Linked DNA regions of Homo sapiens: region 2 is linked to region 1. The links are contacts of gene promoters, found by promoter capture Hi-C in blood cells and fetal thymus (Javierre and others, 2016). All regions are on one chromosome and are shown on one strand. Each heading gives the region's core, a stretch centred on a gene start or on the middle of the fragment in contact. The rest is flanking DNA. Distances are from core to core; before and after follow the strand shown.

Region 1 (5,474 bases), core at 2,260-4,759:
GCAAGGAAGGAAGGAAGGAAATGACTATATACAATACCGGTTCTCTGCCTTGATTGTTCCTATGATGGATACAGCATTTTCCACCACTGCTTTTGCACCGTTAAGTACAAATGTTGAAAGACAAAACATCTCAATAACATGAAAATAGTTTGAACATTATGTACCCTCTGAAAGATCTCAGTGGTCCCCCTCCCCAAGCATCCACAGATCCCGCTCTGGGAAGCACAGACCATCCACCAGCAGGTACCAGTTCTGCTTGTTATGGCGATGTAAAACTACTACAATTCCCTCTTTTTTGTGCAGCCCCCGAAAACATTTTTGCTATTGTCTCGCCTAAACCTTGCAGTAACTCTTTTTGGTAACTTTGACAACATTCTATGCATGTGGCATAAATGCTACTGATACTGGTTACTCTCCTTCACACCTTTTTATCATATGTGTGATACTCAGAACTGAGCTGATGCCAAAAATATCTGACCAACACAGAGTAGGGCAGAAATACATCTAGTTTCCATAAGGGCATCACACTTTTCGTTAATGCCGTGGTTCTCAACCAGATTTTGCACCCCAGGGCACATCTGGTAATATCTGGAGACATTTTTGATTGTCATTACTGGGGAAATGGAGGGGTGGAGCTCCCGGAATCCAGTAGGTGGAAGCTAAGGCTGCTGTTAAACTACAATACACAGGACAGGCACCTGCAAGGAATGAATCTGGCATAAATGTCAATAATGACTAGGTGAGAAACTGTTTAATGGATCCAAAGACTATCAAAACTTTCAGAAGCTTCACCACCATGACTCTTAAATCAGACTATAATCTTTCCAAAAGTATGTTTGTAGCTACATATGAAATTTAGACAAAATATGGACACTTGATCAAAATGTTCTGTAATATCCTAAATTTCGATAATTTTGATTTAAATTCATTCCGACAACTCACCTAGGGTCCATGCCCCAATGCCACTCACCCATCCAAATTTAACATTAGGACAGGTATACCAAAAATGAAAGCCAAACACAATATAGCCGGGAAATCACAATCCAACACATCAAAAAAACAACATTTATGACAGTGTGACAGCAGTACATGAAAAACAAAGCAACTTAATGAGGAAGAAGCCCTATTTTTCTTTAACTAGGCATTCTTTGGTCTCTCTATTGTTTACTACAGTAATTATCGTATACTTACTTTTTGAGTCTCGCTCTGTCACCCAGGCTGGAACGCAGTGGCATGATCAAGGCTCACTGCAGCCTCAGCCTCCTGGGCTCAAGCAGTCCTCCCACCTCAACCTCCCAAGTAGCTGGGATTACAGGCATGAGCCACCACGCCCAGCTAACTTGTGTTTTTTGTTGAGATGAAGTTTCGCCATGTTGCCCAGGCTGATCTCAAACTCCTGGCCTCAAGCGATTTACCTGCCTGGGCCTCCCAAAGTGCTGGGATTACAGGCGTGAACCACCGCGCCTGGCCCCGTCTTCCATTTTACACACTTGAACTAACTCGCGAAGAATTTGAAATACCTAAGGTCTTTCACAGAAATGTATACCTTCCCTCTTCAAAGAATGTTGGGGGAAAGTAGGTATAAAAGTACTTTTAATTCCTAGAAATAAGACACAAATTACTTAATGTTATTTCTTCATTGAAGCCTTTTAAGGTTTACATCTATCATTTTTAATGCTGGTATGATTATCAGAAAAAGAAGTCCCTTTTCAAAGACAGCAAAATGTTAACTTAATAACGCAGTCATCACGACATCACTGCAAACATTTATCTCCTATTGAACTGAGAAACACCACAACAATCTTGCTTAGACTCAGTTCTCCTAGGGTCTCTTATTCTATGAAAGGGAAAAATCAATAAACAGAAACCATGCAGATTCCAAGATTTTAGACCTGTATAGTTAGTTAAGTCTAACAAACGTTTTCATCACAGAAGTAATGTGATAGACTTCTTAATAACCTAAGGGGGTGGGTGGGAGCCATGGAAAATCCTTTTAAAATACATAAATTGCGATAGAAGTCATTAAGGTCTGTGCCAAAGTTAGAGTCTCACCTGTAAAGAAACACATTCACACACATATATAATTGTAAAACTACAATCGGTGATTATGTGCTAAAGAAATTATCCTTACTTACAAAAAAAAAATAGACCTGAGTTACTACATTCGATGTCTAGAAACCACAAAAATCTTTATCCTGAATTTAACCAAAACTTTGAGTGTCAATTACATGTTGCGTTTTGAGGCTACTAAGATGAAGAAAACTCGGTCCCTGGTCTCAAAGAGGCACTCTTACGCTTCAATATTCAAAAATGGAAGAAATGCAGTCTCACTATTTAGGCCTCTACAATGCTGTATATTTGCAGGAAAAAAAAAATCCGTAATCTACTGGCAATGAGCTGCCAAATTATATCTCATTATCAGAAAGGGGGAGGGGAGAAAAAAACTTTTTAAAAACCCACCAAGAAAAGAAAAAGGCGCAGTGGCATTAGAAAGCATAAAGAGACTAGCTTCAAGCCTTACAACCAGGAAAAAAAAAGTATCACCAGAGATAGAGAAAGAAGGAAACAGAATGAAACCTGGTTACCCCATCAAAACAAAACAGGGAAAGCAATACATAAGTCGTTTTGGAGGAGGGCACCCTGTGAAGTGCCCCCTTCTCCGACCGCCTGTGAATGCTAGGGAGGCGGAGGTGGAGGCAGGCGGACTCAACGCTCAAAGCTGGGCTTTTAACTCGTGCTCCTACATTCAGACAAGGTCAGTGGAAAGGGGCTAACTCCGGCGCACAAGACAGGCATCTGGAAATGGGAGGAAGAGAGTGAGCAAACTGAGACAGACCAGGAACAGAAAAGCAACATCGAATGGGCCCGAGGGGCGCCGAGAGCGAGCCCGAACCCCAAGTGCTGATCCCGCGTGCAGCAGGGTCGTGGTTCCCCACCACCAGGCAATGTTTTGTTTTCGGGTTGTTTTGATTTTCTTTGTGGACGGGGCGGAGAAGCTGGAGTGGCCGGGCGAGTTAGAGGTTCCGCCAGCAATTCCGGAAGGGGAAGGCCCCCGGCCCGACGGCAGCTGACCCAGCCAGGAAGGGTCGGGGGACGCGGGAACCCAGCACACGGGGGGAAGTGCGGCGGCGAGCGAGCGAGGAAACAGGAAGGTCCCCAGTCCTGCCTGCCTCCTACCAGCGGGGAGGGTCGGGCTCGCGTGCCACCCTCTCCGCCTACCTCTTCCCCTTCCCGGACGCCCCCCAAGGCCCAGCCGGCGAGCGAAAGAAAACAGAATACAAATTACTTACAACGGCATCGTCTCCGGCGCCGGCACCGCCCAGTCACTTCCCCCCCGCAACCGCCGCCGCTGCCGCCCTGGGCATGATCCACTGAGGCGGGAGGGAGGGGGGGGCCTGCCTCAGCCCTGGGTCCAACCCCTCTCCCGCACCGCTCCCGCCGCTTTAAGCGCTTCTCCTCCTTCCCCTTCGTCCTAACATGGCGCCCGAGCGCTACCACAGCAACGTTCTAGAACTGCTGACGCCACCACGCACGCCGTGCGTGCGCCTGCGCACCAGCGCCGTCCGCCGCGAAGCCTCACGGGAAGCGGAGTTCCTAAGGCCGCCTGCGGCCCGGCAATTACCCCCTGGGTCCTCTCACACTTAGCAGTGGGTGTCAGATGGTGGAAGGGAACGCTCAGGGAGGCCCCGGGCGGTGAGTTGTCCCTCGGGCGGGGACGCCCTCGTGGGCAGTGCGGCGTGGACGGCGCAAGGAAGAACCCGGAGAGATCCCAAGCCACGAGGCACCGCTTCCGGCGCATTGTGAGGTCCCACCTTTCCCGCCGCCTGAGGTCGCGGCGGCTGCTCTTTCCCGGAGCAGCGTCCCTGGAGGCGCTGCCAGGGGGTGAGGCACCCACGCGTGCACCGTATGTACCCCCCAGCGCGGCGCTTAGAACGACTCGCATGAGTCGCTGCCTTGGGTTGGAACCGGTTACTCCGCCGCTTCGTACTGGACTGCAAAGTAACAAGTACTTCGCCGGGCAGCGGTGCCGACCCCGTGTGCTACGGCGAGAGGTGCTTAGCCTAGAGCCGACGAAAACATGTCCCCAGGACTCCCTTTCCCTCCCAGACTGCGTCCCACCAGATGGAGCTTTCCGTCTGTTTTAACCACCAGTGTATTCCTGATGCCTGACCCAGGCGCTGAAATATTTGTTGAACGAATAAATGTGTAGGTTAGGACTGACGACAGTCCGCGAATTCTGGAACACGGGCTGATTTTACTTTTGAACAAATGATGCACTGGAACTTCCTGACAGAGCTGACCTTTTATAGGAACATCAATGGCAGTCACCGCTGGCATTTTAGCAAAGGTTGTCTTGGTCATAATTTCCCCTTGACTGTGTTTCCAGCCCTTAATCTATATCGGGTGGGACCTGGAAGTCTACCTTCTCGCCACCCCTCGGCAAAAGTTTGAGAAAGTGTTTGAGGCAGAGCCTCCTCTCTCATATGCCCTCCATCTGCGAATTAGAACGAATTATAAGTTCTACGGTGTCACATAGGGGGTTAGCGGAGAGGAAGAGGGAAAGAATCAAATACAGGACGCTGCCTTAACCAAAGTTCTAAACTCTAAATGTAATAATGTGCATTTGTGAGTCCTCAGGAAGTTTCACAAAGGCTTTCCCTTTTTTCACAGAATGTCTAGTAGGACTGGTGACTCCGAATGGGAAAAACACAGGACCTAGACCTGCCCTGTCCATTAGTGTAGCCCCTTGGCCACTTAGGGCCACTGAGCACTTGAAATGAGGCTAGTTCGTTTAGGAGGCACTGGAAGTGCAAAATACGCACGGGTGTCAGTTCGACGAATGTGAAATACCTCACTGATCACTTTTTATATTGATTGCACGTTGAAATATTTTGGATATATTGCAGTAAAGAAAATGTAAGCCGGGCACGGTGTCTCACACCTGTGATCCAGCACTTTAGGAGGCTGAGGTGGGAGGATCGCTTGGGCAGGAGTTAGAGACCAGCCTGGGCAATATAGGGAAACCCCCGTCTATACAAAAAGTTAAAAAAAAAAAAAAAAAAAGAAAAAAGAAAAAAAAATTAGCTGGGCATGGTAGTTCCTGCCTGTGGTCCCAGTTACTCCGGAGACTGAGGTAGGAGGATCCCTGGAGTGGGAGGTGGAGGCTGCCGTGAGTCGTCATCTCACTACTGCACTCCAGCCTGCGTTGACAGAACGAGATCCTGTCTCAAAAAAAAAAAAAAGAAAATATACTATTAAAATTAATTTTACCTGTTTTTTTAAATGTGACCACTAGAAAATTTTAAGTTATATATGTGGCCTTCATTTCCATTAAATAGTGCTGATCTGCAAACAGACTTATATTTGATTGTCATTTCTTCCATTTAGTCTCTTTTCCTCTTGTCATCAAGGTGGCTTTGGCTGGAGACCCAGTAGCATAGTTGTCCCTAAAAGACTGAAAATCTGAGATCCAG
Region 2 (5,506 bases), core at 2,555-5,054, 1.0 Mb after region 1:
AGGCAGAGAAGGGCAGAGGGACCAGCAGGAGCAAAGGGGAGAAATGATGCATACAGGGAGCCACAGGTGGTTCCTACTGCAAGTAGAGGAGGTGGGAAGTAGGGGAGGCTGAGGCTGCAGAGATGGATGGAGAAGGACTTTGAATGTCCTGTTAAACTTCTTGGACTTTCTCAGGTGGAGGCTGTGAGGCACAGGAGGCGTTCATTCAGAAAAGCCTTTGACCCTGAGCCGTTAGATGCTCCTTTCTGCCAAGAGAGGACTCTGGTCCCCCTGCCTCCTGCAAAACTGGCAGGTTTCCCGGGAAATGAATGGAAACATCCTCGTGCCTAAGCCTCTGGATCCAGGAAAGGATTTGGCTCTGCCAGTCAAGGGCCCAGGCACTGCAGGGCCATGGATCTCCTTAAGGGTTCAGTGAGTACAGCTCTGAGATTCACTCCCGCCAAGAACTCCCATTTGAAATGAACCCTGCCGTTTCTCAGGCTGGGGTGCCAGTTATTAAATTAAAAGTGAGATTCGAATGGTTCTGTGTTGTTTTTGTAAACCAAAGCTGAAAACTGTGGAGGGTATTTTTTTTAGCTGGAAAGTAAAGCATGCCAGGCTTTCTAGTCCGCCTTGTCCTGCTGCCATAGACCCAGGGCCAGCCGGATCCAGCCTGGGGGGGACTGAGAGGTGGCTTATTTGTGTTGAGGGCCTATGGTGCACCAGGCTCACTCAGTGCCAGGCTCTTTGCATGCTTATGGGTGCCATTGTCATCCTCATTTTACAAATGAGGAATCTGGGGAACAGACAGGTGAATACACTTGCCTGAGTCACACAGCTAGTAGATGGAGAAGACAGATGCAGTCCTATTCTATACATACTTCAAAGTCTGTACCTTTTCTGTCTCATGTAACTTGAATGCTGGACTTAATACTCTTAACTTTTTCTGAAAGTCTAGTGGAACTATGAAATCTTTGAATTTGTAGGCCCAGAGCGGTGGCTCACGCCTGTAATCCCATCACTTTGGGCGGCTGAGGCAGGCGGATCACCTGAGGTCAGGAGTTCGAGACCAGCCTGGCCAACATGGTGAAACCCTGTCTTTATTAAAAATGCAAAAATTAGCTGGCTATGGTGGTGCATGCCTATAATCCCAGATTTCTGGTGAAATGAATGGAATCCCAGCTACTTGGGAGGCTGAGGCAGGAGAATCGCTTGAACCCGGTAGGTGGAGGTTGTAGTGAGCCAAGATTATGCCACTACACTCCAGCCTGGGTGACAGAGCAAGACTCCATCTCAAAAAAACAAAACAAACAAACAAACAAAAATCTTTTAATTGTGATTAAAATGTAACTTTAAAAGCCTCTAATTTTTTTAAAAAAAATTGTTAATACCACTTTAAGGAAATTGAAATCTTAGAAATGTACACATGATTTCACTGCTCTATGATGCTACTTTTTTCCTTTTTTTTTTTTTTAAGAGTTGGGATCTTGTCCTGTCACCCAGGCTGGAGGGGAGTGCAGTGGCGCTCCTGTCACAGCTCACTGCAGCCTTGGATTCTGGGCTCAAGAGGTCTTTCTGACTAAGGCTCTCTAATTGTGGGGATTACAGGCACGTGGCACTGCATCCGGCTTCATTCTTCATCTTTTTTTGACAGTTTTTGAATGATTTGCACAGGAGGGGTTGACAAACTGTGGCCTGCTGGTCAAATGCCACCTGTTTTTGTAAATAAAGTTTTGTTGGAACGCAGTCATGCTCATTTATTTACATGCTATCTGTGGCTATTTTCATGCTACCATGACAGATTTGAGGAGATGTGACGGAGACCATATGGCTTGTAAAGCCTAAAAGCCTTGCTCTCTGACCGTCTCCAGAAACAGTCTGCCAACCCTCGCTCTAGAGTGCAGCGCTTTGCAGTCTGCTCTTTTTCTCTGCAGACCGTGCATTATTCTAGGGTGTTAATTTCTCGTTGTAAATGGCCAGATTATGCTGTAGAGTGGGTGGATGTCACAAACTTTCCTTGCTGGACTGTTATATTGCATCTTTTTTTTTCTCCCCTCGGGAAAACTGTCACATTTGCAAATTTATTATTTATTTGTTATATAGCACCTACTGTGTGCCAGCATTGTTCTAAGCACTTTACCAATATGAACTCACCTAGTCTTCAGATCTGCAGTGAGAAGTTTATGCTAATACCATCCCCATATTACAGATGAGAAGGCAAAGTCAGAGGAGTTAAATATACTGGGCTAAGACCACATAGCTTATTTGGCAGCAAAGTCAGGTTTGAATCCTTAGCAGCTGTTAGGAAGTGTCCCAGGAAAAGCAGGCCTTTGTGAATCCCTGTGTGGGGGGACAGGGGCTGGGGCAGTGACTCACCAGGAGTGAGCCCTGCCAGGCCCCCTCAGCCCAGCCCTGGAGCCTCACACCATCCAGATTTGAATTGGCCCTAATCTTCCAGCTCGGGCCAAGTGACCACAAATTTTATTTCTTTGTTTAAAATGGCCCTGAAAAGAGGGCCAGCAGCTGATGCTAAAGAGCAAGTGCAGAGCCCTAAGAAAACAATGGCTCCGGATCAGAAAAATACCATTTGGGTGTAAGAGTACGAGAGTGGATAGTTGAGCCCGGCAGGAGTGCTGCTTCATGGCTGGAAGACTCCACAGCTTGCTCACTTGCTACATAAATGATAACTTTGCAAATATTTGAGTTGCCTGGAGAAAACATAAATGCAATATAACTGTCCAAGAAAAAGGAAGTGGTTCAAGAAAGTTTGTGACCTTCACTCCATAGAATATTCTGAGCTGTTTACAATGAGAATGTAATGATGGACACTGTGGATTGCTTGTGGCAAACATATTCTTATCTTCTGTGAGATAGGGGGTCTTAGGGGAGGAGGAGGGAATTCCAGACGTTCTCACCAGGAGAACAAGCTTCCTAAGATTTCATGGAGCCCTCGTGGCCCATCCAGGTCCCACCCCCGATCCCAGGAATGATGTCAGAGGAGGCTGGTTAAAATCCCCAGCTCACAGACACATTTTGGAATGTGAATTTAGCTAGGGCTTCCCACAGGACATTCATAAATGGGTGGATTCCAGAAGGTCCCATGTTAAGAAATGCCATGTTAGAGAGACTGGAGTGGAGGGATCAGGGGAGGGAGTCCACAGTGTTGAGAATCCTCCAAATGCAACACTCACTTTGCAGAAGAAGAAAGAGACATTGAGCTTTGTCAGGGCAGGATGCTCTTATCTGTTTGGTTCATCTCTGTGATCTTCAACACTGACCACAGTGTCTGGCATAGGCTTTGAAGGATTTGTCATTAAGTGAATTAAGCATCTCCCAAGCTTTGGAAAGGAGAGAAATTGGGTCTGGTATAGTTCTTGATCAGAAGACAAGACGACCACAACCTGACTCTCTGCCCATCCACTTAGGGTCCTTTTAGGGCATGGCCTTCATCTTCTCCCGGCCCCTCTGAGTGGAATGAGAGGTGGGAGAGACCTGGGTTTTGGAGCCGCTGCCCTGTCAAGGTGCTCTGCCTGATTCATTTCAAGCCATACTCTTGAGAGGCCCACTGGGGAAGGCTTCGCAGGCCCAGCTGCCATAACCCCAAGCCTCACTGGCCCCTCGGGCTTGTCCCAGGCTTAGGACTGTTCACGGGGGACAGTCCAGCATGAGCCACTGGGGCTCACCCTCCACCCCGTCTGTCTCTCAGTCAGTTGGGTGTGAGATGGGAAATCCTGTTCTGAGTCAAAAAGGAACCCTCCTCCCTTGCCTTCCTGATTCACTTCCTCATTCTGCCGACATTTTACAGCCTGGCACAGGTGCTGGAGCCATGCAGGCCTGGCCTTGCTTCTGACTTGGTGCCTCAGTCACTGTCTGACGTGGGCAGGAGAGCCAGCTTCAGTTTCCCCATCTGTCAGGCAGCACGATGACCCCTGATTTGAAGGTTGATGGGGGCCTTCATGGTGTCTGCCCAGTGCCTGGCACACAGCAGGCCTCACCCATGGGAACTATTGCCATTGTGAGTAGCATTTGATAACATTTTACCCAACCAACAGGAGTCTCCTTTGGCACCCTAAGATCAAGACCCAGTGATAACCTTGACACCTACCAGGACAATCATAGGGTCGCAGATGAACCCAGAGCAGGAGACAGGGTAGCAGCAGGCAGGAGACTCCTTAACTGTCAAACAGCATTGTCCAAGGTGGGCCCGGCTGGGCATTTTGCTGGGAAAAGGACTGTAAGGACAGACTGGGCACAGACACTCTTGGAAGGAATGGAGGCTGCTCTCACAGTTCATTAGACATTGGCAAGCTTAATCAGTTCTTGAGAAAAGACCCTTCTATCTGAACCCATGGCCTTTTTTTTCTTTCTTTTCTTTTCTTTCTTTTTTTTTTTGAGACTGAGTCTCGCTCTGTTGCCCAGGCTGGAGTGCAATGGCATGATCTCGGCTCACTGCAACCTCCGCCTCCCAGGTTCAAGCGATTCTCCTGCCTCAGCTTCCTGAATAGCTGGGATTACAGGTGCCTGCCACCACGCCCAACTGATTTTTGTATTTTTAGTAGAGACGGGGTTTCACCATGCTGGCCAGGCTGGCTCGAACGCCTGACCTCAGGCGATCCACACACCTCAGCCTCCCAAAGTGCTGGGATTACAGGCATGAGCCACGGCGCCCAGCACCCATGGCCTTTTTTTTGAAGAGCAGGTTTACAATAAATAGGATGCCTTAGGGTTAAACGGCACCTTACAAGGCATTTCCTAGCATGTGACTTAAGGTGCCCTGTTGCAAGGGCCCTGCTTGGTCCAGTGTGGTTTTCACACCATTGAGCAGATGCTGCCCTGACTGCTTGTGGGTCCTGTCACTGAGTAGGCTGTGCCACTCTCTTGCTCACAAACCCTCACTGGCTCCCTATTGCCCACAGAGTAAAACCCACACAACCCTTTGGAATCCTGTGCTGTTCAGTCCCCTCAGCCTGCTCTCCAGTATGGCCTCCTCCCGTCTCTCTTTGTTAACAATTGCCAAACCCATCCTGCAGCCTGAACTTGGCCTTGCACTTCCCCATCTCCCAGCTTTTGGTCTCGCCAGTCCATCCACTCGTTATGCCCTTTCCCACTTCTCATCTTATTCAGACCCTGCTCATCCTTCACATCCCAGCCAGGGTATCCCTTCCTCTATGAGCCTCTCCTGGAATCTTCATAAGAATCATTGCTCCTTTCTCTAGGCTCTGTGCCTCTGCATTTAACACCCATAGCACTCTCATTTAGAGCTTGTGATCTGGAGAACCCGAGCTTGAAACCTATAGGCCCTAGTGGCACCGCGCCAGGCACATCTGGATGTGGAAGTCAAATGGTCTTTTTTTTTTCTTTTTTTTAAGAGTCAGGGGTCTCACTTTGTTGCCCAGGCTGGCTTCAAACTCCTTCTACCTCAGCCTCCTGAGTAGCTGGGATTGCAGGCAGGCACCACCACACCTGGCTAAATGGTGTTAGATTTGAATTCTCGCCTCCCAGCTACTATCTCTGGAATCTTGGGCAG

Evidence for each region. Contacts are between HindIII fragments. The CHiCAGO score rates a contact against its expected background, and 5 or more counts as called.
Region 2: a contact is called between a fragment that was not itself captured here and the fragment with the promoter of PAPOLA in region 1, in 1 of 17 cell types (erythroblasts). The highest score is 6.1, in erythroblasts.

What each region holds. Positions count from the first base shown.
Region 1 is chr14:96,500,417-96,505,890 of GRCh38, reverse strand. It overlaps PAPOLA (poly(A) polymerase alpha), which reads right to left and starts at 3,509. Exons shown (of 22, transcript NM_032632.5): 1 at 3,291-3,509. The coding sequence starts at 3,298. It overlaps PAPOLA-DT (PAPOLA divergent transcript), which reads left to right and starts at 3,565. Exons shown (of 1, transcript NR_122121.1): 1 at 3,565-4,243. RefSeq lists enhancers at 860-1,359, 3,017-3,612, 3,436-3,695, 3,613-4,207, 4,208-4,804 and 1 more and silencers at 3,196-3,315, 3,754-4,097. The HindIII fragment of the contact is 10,690 bases long and covers 789-5,474 here.
Region 2 is chr14:95,493,977-95,499,482 of GRCh38, reverse strand. All of the region lies in intron 1 of SYNE3 (spectrin repeat containing nuclear envelope family member 3), which reads left to right. Among named protein-coding and RNA genes, the nearest start is that of SYNE3-AS1, 19 kb to the left of the region's middle. RefSeq lists enhancers at 3,758-3,857, 3,746-4,247. The HindIII fragment of the contact is 970 bases long and covers 3,320-4,289 here.